Linked DNA regions of Homo sapiens: all the other regions are linked to region 1. The links are contacts of gene promoters, found by promoter capture Hi-C in human tissues and cell types (Jung and others, 2019). All regions are on one chromosome and are shown on one strand. The core of a region is centred on a gene start or on the middle of the fragment in contact, and the rest is flanking DNA. Distances in the headings are between cores, read along the strand shown.

What was found. The method cuts DNA at HindIII sites, captures the fragments that hold promoters and counts their contacts. A contact is called where the count stands out against the background at its distance.
Region 2: a contact is called between the fragment with the promoter of ZNF417 here and a fragment that was not itself captured in region 1, in 1 of the 25 tissues and cell types used here (aorta).
Region 3: a contact is called between the fragment with the promoter of ZNF776 here and a fragment that was not itself captured in region 1, in 2 of the 25 tissues and cell types used here (IMR-90 fibroblasts and liver).

What each region holds. Positions count from the first base shown.
Region 1 is chr19:58,222,481-58,225,407 of GRCh38, forward strand. It overlaps the pseudogene LOC100419847. Among named protein-coding and RNA genes, the nearest start is that of ZNF544, 5.0 kb to the right of the region's middle. The HindIII fragment of the contact is 6,243 bases long and covers 1-2,927 here.
Region 2 is chr19:57,915,342-57,918,092 of GRCh38, forward strand. ZNF417 (zinc finger protein 417) reads right to left here and starts at 1,251. Exons shown (of 3, transcript NM_152475.3): 1 at 1,038-1,251. The coding sequence starts at 1,070. RefSeq lists enhancers at 1,008-1,297, 1,316-2,171, 1,568-1,627. The HindIII fragment of the contact is 14,944 bases long and covers 1-2,751 here.
Region 3 is chr19:57,745,439-57,748,313 of GRCh38, forward strand. ZNF776 (zinc finger protein 776) reads left to right here and starts at 1,377. Exons shown (of 3, transcript NM_173632.4): 1 at 1,377-1,653. The coding sequence starts at 1,621. RefSeq lists an enhancer at 1,389-1,438. The HindIII fragment of the contact is 15,716 bases long and covers 1-2,875 here.

The DNA of each region.
Region 1 (2,927 bases), core at 393-2,892:
ATTAACATTGATAAACTATCATGAACGCCTATAAAGTGCCAAAAAAGAAAAAAATATTAATTAGACAAAACACAGAAAACAAAACCTCAAATAACCAGTAAGAATATGTAAAGATCCTGAAATCACAAGTAGCTAGGGAATACAAATTACACAAAATGTTACTTTTACCCAAAATACTGGCAAAATACAAAGGATAATACCCAATGCTGGAAAGAATAGGGACTATTATTCTCACTTTGGAAAGTAATTTGGTAATACCTAAGAGAATCAAAAATACACTTATCCTTCAACTTGTGCAGTCCCACTGGAGGGGCTCTGACCTATAGAAATGAAGGCACTAATTCTGGGTGTCCGGGGGTGTTTACTACAGTATTGTTTATGTTGTGTTTGGAAATAGAGAAGAGTGTGGGAGGTGAATGCTAGGATTTTACACTGAAAGAGGTGCAGATGAGGGGGAAGAAGTAGGCTGGAGCAAATTGAAAGTGATGTCTGCTATAATTAGTTAAGAGAAAATATGAATGTAAGGTTCAATGTATGAAGTTTTTTTTTTTCTTTTTCTTTTTTTTTTTTTTTTTTTAGACAGTCTTGCCCTGTTGCCCAGGCTGGAATGCAATGGCATGACCTTGGCTCACTGCAACCTCTGCCTCCCAGATTCAATCAATTCTCCTGCCTCAGCCTCCCGAGTAGCTGAGCCTCCCGCCACCATGCCTGGCTAATTGTTGTATTTTTAGTAGAGACAGGGTTTCACCGCGTTGGTCAGGCTGGTCTTGAACTCCTGACCTTGTGGTCTGCCCACTTCAGCCTCTCAAAGTGCTGGAATTACAGGCGTGAGCTACTGAGCCCAGCCACAAGGTATGAAGTTTTTCTAGACATGTAAAAGTGAGCATGCACTTGGGCAAAAACGAGAGTCATCCAAAAATGAAAACATAAGATTTAATTTCAGGATGGGAGTCTATGTCATCTTCTATTTGAATTTTCTGTTATTTCCTGAGTTCCAACTTTTTTCCACTCCAGATAATTCATACTATAATATTTCCATAAACCTGGCTCACAGAATAAAAGTTTGAAAAATAAGTTTATTTCAATAATCATTAGAAAAATTATAGTCGGGCACGGTGGCTCATGCCGGTAATCCCAGCACTTTGGGAGGCCGAGGCTGGCAGATCACGAGGTCAGGGATTCGAGACCAGCTGATCAACATAGTGAAACCCCGACTCTACTAAAAGTACAAAAATTAGCAGGGCGTGGTGGTGCGCGCCCATAATCCCAGCTACTCAGGAGGCTGAGGAAGGAGAATTGCTTGAACCTGGGAGGCAGAGGTTGCAGTGAGCCAAGATCGCACCACTGCACTCCAGCCTGGGCGACAGAACGAGACTCTGTCTCAAAAAAAAAAATTATGGAAGTGAAAAATTGTGCAAAAATGAGTGTGTACCAACTTTCTGTCAGAGCTTCACCTTAATCATCTAATAAGAAAGCAAACAAAAGATAAACTGTATAAGCATGCCAACAATAATCTTTATTTCTGCCATGTTTTACCCTTTAATATTCAGAAGAAAAGTCATACAGGAGGAAAATTTTATAACTATAGTAAATATAGACAACTTGAACAACACTAGATCTCTACTGGCCAAAAGGAAAAAACAAAAAACAACCCCCAGTATATCCCTAAATGTACACCAGAGAATCTTAAAAGATAAAATAATTTGGCCAGGCACGGTGGCTCCCGCCTGTAATCTCAGCACTTTGGGAGGCCGAGGTGGGCGGATCACGAGGTCAGGAGATCGAGACCATCCTGGCTAACACGGTGAAATTCCATCTGTACTAAAAATACAAAAACAAAATTAGCCAGGCATAGTGGCGGGGGTCTGTAATCCCAGCTACTCCAGAGGCTGAAGCAGGAGAGTGGCATGAACCCAGGAGGCGGAACTTGCAGTGAGCAGAGATCGCACCACTGCACTACAGCCTGGGCAACAAAGCAAGACTCAAAAAAAAAAATAAAATAATTCATGTGATTATAATAAATTTGAGAAAAACTTCTTTTATAGCTCTTGCCTTTCTCAAAGGGGGAGGACTCATCCTGGAGAGAAACCCCATGGATGTATTCAACATGGTAAATCTTTTTGATGGAGCTCTCACCTAGTTGCACATCACAACTTATACCAGATAGAAAATTTATGAATGTAATCAATGTGGAAAGTTTTTCAGCCTGGTGCTCCCACCTTGTTAGACGTATACTGAAGACTCTGGGAACATCGGGAACGTCAGAGAGCTTTCAGCAGGAGATCTCATCTAATTGGGCAATAGAAAACTCATACTGAAGAAAAACAATTCCATGTAATCAATGTGAGAAATATTTCAGTGACATCCTTGATTTTAATTGGCATCAGGGAAAGTGTAATAGAGAGAAGCCTTATGAATGTAGTCAAGGTAGGAAATCTTTCTATACAGCTCTGGCCTTGTTGCACATAAAATAACTCATACTGGAAAGAAGCTTCGTGACTGTAATCAGTGTTGGAAATGGTTCAGTTAGAGTTCTCACTTGTTGCTCATCAGATAAATCATACCGGTGAGAAACTGCGAGTGTCCTGAGTGTAGGAAATCAGCTGGAGCTGATTACTTATATGGCATCAGAGATTTCACATTAGAGAGAAACCTCATGAATGTCACTGGTGTGGAAAATCCCGCAGCAAGAATTCTCACCTTATTGAACAGCAAATAACTCATTCTGGAGAGAAGCCTATAAATGTAGTCAACGTGGAAAAACTTTCAGACAGAATTATTATTGTGTATGCACCAAAAAATTCATATGGGCAAAAGCCAACATGAATGTCTAAATGTGAAAAAGCCTTCAGGAGACTATCTGACCTTATGGAACACCAGATCATTCATAATAGAGAGAAACTGTATGCATATAATCAGTGCAGAAA
Region 2 (2,751 bases), core at 1-2,500, 310 kb before region 1:
AATGCACAGCCCTCGGCCTGCTTACTCTTCCAGGGAGAGCTCCACCTCACACTTTGTTCCAGACAGGTTCCATCCTCCCGGCTCCGTCCATCTCCAGGCCATTGCCTGCGCCCCTCCCTGTGCTTGTTGCTCTCCCCACCGCATCCCACGGGTGTCAGAAACAGGTGAAACCGTCTTTGCAAAATTATAACTGAGGAAATTATGACAGTGAAAGAAATCAGACCTTACTGACTCCGTCTTGCTTCCAACCTTTCAGCTGTCCTTGTTCATTCCTGGGTATAGGCTGAATTAACTTAGGGAAGGAATTCAGTTCATGGTTTCACTCTGAAACAAAATTGATAATAGCCCTTTCCTGAAAAGACCCCCTTCTTGCCTGGAGAACAGCCTGCCTTTGCAGGACTAACGAATTAGCTACAAGGTTAGAAATTACCGTTTAGGGGTCATGCAGCTTCTGACTCCAAGAGTCTGAACCTCCCCAAGTTGCTCCTGAAGATAAATCACTATTGTAAAACCTAAGATCAGTGCTTGAGGTATTTTGCAGATCCTGCACTGGATGGATCAGCTGACAACACACAGACCGGTAATCTGGGTCAATCAGTTCTGCCATCCCACCCAGAACAGAAAACAGCATGAAAAACTCACTTTAACCCTCTATGAATCCATCTCAGGTCCCAACCCTTACCGCCAAATTAATGTTGAAAACTCTGATCCCGGAATGCTAATGGAGACTGATTTGAGTAATAATAAAACTCCTGTCTCCAGAACAGCCTGACGGCTCTGCGTCAATTACTATTTCTCCATCGCAATTCTCCAGTCTTCATAAATCGGCTCTGTCTAGGCAGCTGGCAAGGTGAACCCACTGGACAGTTACACAGGGACCCCCACTGGACAGTTACACAGGGACCCCTCCTGCGAGCGCCTCAGTGTTCCTACGCCGGGTACCGGCTACAGACCCGTGAGCAGGAGCCGCTCCCTCGCTGGTTTAGGACCTGGGTGACGATGGGGTGACCTGAGGGCACAGAAGGCGCCACAATTACCTGAGTCGGGCGCCTCGGCGCAGCCGCTGCCATCGGACTACTTGGGGAAGCACGGCCCGGGAGCAGTGGTCGCCGTCACGGGGCTGCAGAGCCGCCTCTGGGCACCGAGGACGATTCCTCTCCACCTTCTAGGTTCAGTCACCGCGGTCCCCCCCCAGCACTCAGGGGCCACAAACTGGGGAAACACCCGCGTCACCGATACACAGCCGCTACTAGAGACCCCGGAAGTCTCAGCCTTACGTTACGTGCACACGTGGAAATGCCTTCTTTCCGAGTGCTCATTGGCTCTGACCGGCTGTCGTTTAACGCAGAGCTTTCTGGGTAATGTAGTTCCCCACTTTCCATGGCGCTAAAAAGAGCGATACCCAGAGTCCATCTGCAGGAAAAGCCCGCCATCAGGTCAGGGGTTCTCCTTAAAAAGCGCACCCTTCTGGCCGGGCGCAGTGGCTCAAGCCTGTAATCTCAGCACTTTGGAAGGCGGAGGTGGGCGGATCACGAGGTCAGGAGATGGAGACCATCCTGGCTAACACGGTGAAACCCCGTGTCTACTAAAAATTCAAAAAAAAAAAAAGTTAGCTGGGTGTGGTGGCGGGCGCCTACAGTCACAGCTACTCTGGAGGCTGAGGCTGGAGGAGAATGGCGTGAACCTGGGAGGCAGAGCTTGCAGTGAGCTGGGATCGCGCCACTGCCCTCCAGCCTGCGCGACAGAGCAAGACTCTGTCTCAAAAAAAAAAAAAAAAAAAAAAAAAAAAAAAAAAAAAAAGGCGCCTTTCTAGGGCAGAGGAGGGGTCTCACCTAGCCTTAGAAGCCGTATTGAGATTCCTGGAGACTAGTGTCTGTAACTAATCACTCAAGAATCTGGAAAAATACTGTTTCAGATTTCGGGGAGCGCAAGGTAAATAATAGGGAGCTCAAGCTAAAACTATTATTTAGGATTCTCCTAAAGGCTAAAAATCCAAATTACCACACCGTTTGAAACAGTCGTTCAGTCGCAAAATACCTGCACTGGAAGCAGAGGCTGATAAGCGTTGTTGTGTTATAATGTGTCTGAAGGCCCTCAGAAGCCTTAGAGTGCCTAAGGCAAATGAAGGAAGTTAGGGATGTGCTCCCCTATAGCAGGAGTGCAAAGCTGAATCTCTGTGATTCCTACAGAAAACAACTCTCCTGCTGATAGAATCTGTGAAAGGAAAATCTTGTGGCCTCAAAATTACTAAGCTAAAGGGAAAAGTCAATCTGGGAACTGCTCAGGGCAAACTTGCCTCCCATTCTATTCAAAGTCTTCCCTCTCCTCACTGAGATAGATGCCTATTCTGATTGCCTCCTTTGGAAGGACTTATCAGAAATTAAAAAGAATCCAACTATTTGTCTCTCTACCTGTCTACCTGTGACCTGGAAGTCCCCTCCCTGCTTCGAGTTGTTCCCGCCTTTCTGGTCGGAACCAATGTACTTCTTACATATATTCACTGATGTCTCATGTCCCCCTAAAATGTATAAAACCAACCTGTACCCCAACCACCATGGGCACATGTCGTCAGGACTTCCTGAGGCTGTGTCACGGGCATGTGTCCTCAACCTTGGCAAAATAAACTTTTTCTTTTATGAGACGGAGTCTCGCTCTTTGGTCAGGCTCGAGTGCAGTGGCGCGATCTCGGCTCACTGCAACCTCTGCCTCTCGGGTTCAAGTGATTCTCCTGCCTTAGCCTCCCGAGTAGCT
Region 3 (2,875 bases), core at 127-2,626, 480 kb before region 1:
CCTTTAATCCCAGCACTTTGGGAGGCCGAGACAGGTGGATCACCTGAGGTTGAGAGTTCGAGACCAGCCTGACCAACATGGAGAAACCCCGTCTCTACTAAAAATACAAAATTAGCCAGGTATGGTGGCTCATGCCTGTAATCCCATCCATAACATTAATTTATTAGGCAAAACACTCCTTGCCATGGAAACAGAAATAAAGAATAGTCACAAAAAAAAAAAAAGAAAAGAAATAAATAAAGTCTGTTTTATCTAATACAAAAAAAAAAAAATAGCCACTTCCCAGCAATAACATGAACTCCTGGATTTAAGACACAACCAATATCAACAGGTGGAGAGCATCTTCTGCATACGTGCCCCACCTTTGAAAACTGCAGCCATTTATCACTACCAAAATAGCATTTCTTTCATTGGTCTTCCTGTAAGATTGATAAATCTTAGATAAATTAATCCAGAATTAATTGAATATAAGTTGGAATCTCAAGCGAGGGATACTAAGTGGATAAAAGTGTTGCTCAATGTACTGGACACTATGATTGATTTTATAGGCAGGAGAGTTGTCTTCTGTGGGAATCACAGACAGAGATTCAGCATGTATTCCTGCTTTAGGGAACACAACATTTCTCCTCTATCTTCCTTGTCTTGTCCTATCTGGATTAGTTCTCTCTTGTCCCTGACAGACTGAGAAACTGACTCTAATGCCTCAGAGTGCATTCATGTGAATTTATAACACAATAATGTTTATCAGCCTCTGCTGCCAGTACCGGGATTTTGCGACTGAAAGACTGTTCAAAACGTTATGATAATTTGGATTTTTAGTCTTTGGGGGCATCCTAAATAATAAGTTTAGCATCGGAGAGCTCGAGTTCCCCAAAATCTAAAATAATATTTTTTCAAATACTTGAGTGATCAGTTACAGACACTAATCTCCAAAAATCTCAATACGGGTTCTAAGGCTAGGTGAGACTATCCTCTACCCTAGAAGGACATGCACTTTAAGGACAGGCCGCTGAGATGGAGCTGGGCCTTTCCTGCAAGTAAGTGAACGTGATGGTAGGGTATACCTGACAGCATAGTTTGACAGGGGATATAGACTTTCAAGGAGAAAATAGACATGAAATAGATACATGCAGAAGTATAGTCAAATTGAGGGAAGATGACACTTAGGCCAGAGTAGTGTTTATTCACCACTCTGTGCAATCAAGCGCCTCTGAGAAGGCCTTCTTTACCGCCTTGGAACTGTCTTGGAACCTGAGGAAACTACATAACCCAGAAATCTCTGCGTCGAATGACAGCGCGTCAGAGCCAATGAGGGCTCAAAATAAAGGCGTTTCCGCGGAAACAGTATAAAGGTGGGACTTCCGGCGTCCTCTACTAGTGGCCATTTTGATTGGTGTTGGGTGTATTTTCCAGTGAGAGACCGCGGAGTGTTGGGTCGTGTAGAAGTGACTGAACCCAGAAGGTGGAGACGAGACGTTGTCCCGACTGCACAGAGGCTGCTCTGCAGCTCCTTAAAGGCGCTAGGCGTGACCCGCACCAAGGCCGGGATCGGGACCACCGTGCCCGGGTACCTGCACTGCTCGCCCCCTCCTTTCGACCCCGCTTTCCCCACCCAGTCGGATGGCGGCGGCCGCGCTGAGGCCCCCGGCTCAGGTAATTGTGGCGTCTTCCGTGCCCTCAGGTCACCTCATCTTTACCTAAGTCCAAAAGCAGAGAGGAAGCGGCGCCTGCTCAAGGTTTTACACCCTGAACCCGGCGTCGGGACACTGAGGCGCTCTCTATGGGCCCCCGTTTTTGACACCCGCGGGATGCGCTCAGGAGAGCTACAGGCACAGGGAGCGGTGCAGGCAAAGGCCTGGAGATGAACTGAGCCGAGAGGATCGTAACCTAGGGTCCACAGGCACCTGTCGGGAGCAAAGTGTGAGGCAGAGCTCCTCCTGGAAGAGCAGGCTGAGGACCGTGTATTCACCCTGAGAACGCTGGAAGCCATGGACAGCTTCCAACAAAGGAAGGAAAAGATCAATGTCCAGGCTTTAAAGGTTTCCCAAAGTCCAGTCGAAAAAGAACACAGGGGATGACTTTTGGGCCCTGGGAGGTTGAATTCTTGTTCAACCTCTACAGATCAGATAGGTGCTAAGAGATGACATTTTGTACTGAGGCGCTCAGTTCAGACAACCAACTCGCGTTTACCTAGTTACAGGGCCAAGAAAGAGTTCAGGGAGGCCTGAGCTTATCAAATCTCATCAGGGATACATTCTTGTAGCTTGTGCCTCTCCTCTCAGGAACTCCTGGCTGCAGAAGCACTTGCAGAACCTCCGCAGGGAAGCGGAGGGTGTTATTCCCTCACTGGCCCTAACTCCTATCCACATGCTCTTTAGATTGGGATGTCCTGGGATTCTTAGGTACCTTTTTTTTTTTTTTTTTAAGTTTTTTGATATGGGAACCCTGGAGGAACCTTAAACCCAGGATCCAAAGTCTGTGACACAGGATATATGGAGGTATTCCCATTTCTGTCAACCAGTATAAACATACTTGGAAGGTTAACCCAGGAGTTAGTACCAGGATGTGAAATGCTTAGAGGTGAAACTGACCAGAGGGAGGAGGTGATGTTGCCACAGTTTCATCTGGCTGTAGTCTCCTCTGGCTGTACAGTGGAGAACAGACTGTGGGGTTGAGAGAGGAGGAAATAAGATGAGAGTTGAGGCTTTTGCCGTAATCCAAGTGAGGGTTAACAGACTAAGATTCATGGCTAAGGAGATGTGGCTGGATTCAAAGTTGATATTTTGTTACAGCATCTAGGTTTCCTAATACACAAAGTAAGGGCATGAAGAGAGCAATCAGGATCCCGAGGTTTTTGGTCTTAGTAGCTGTAGCT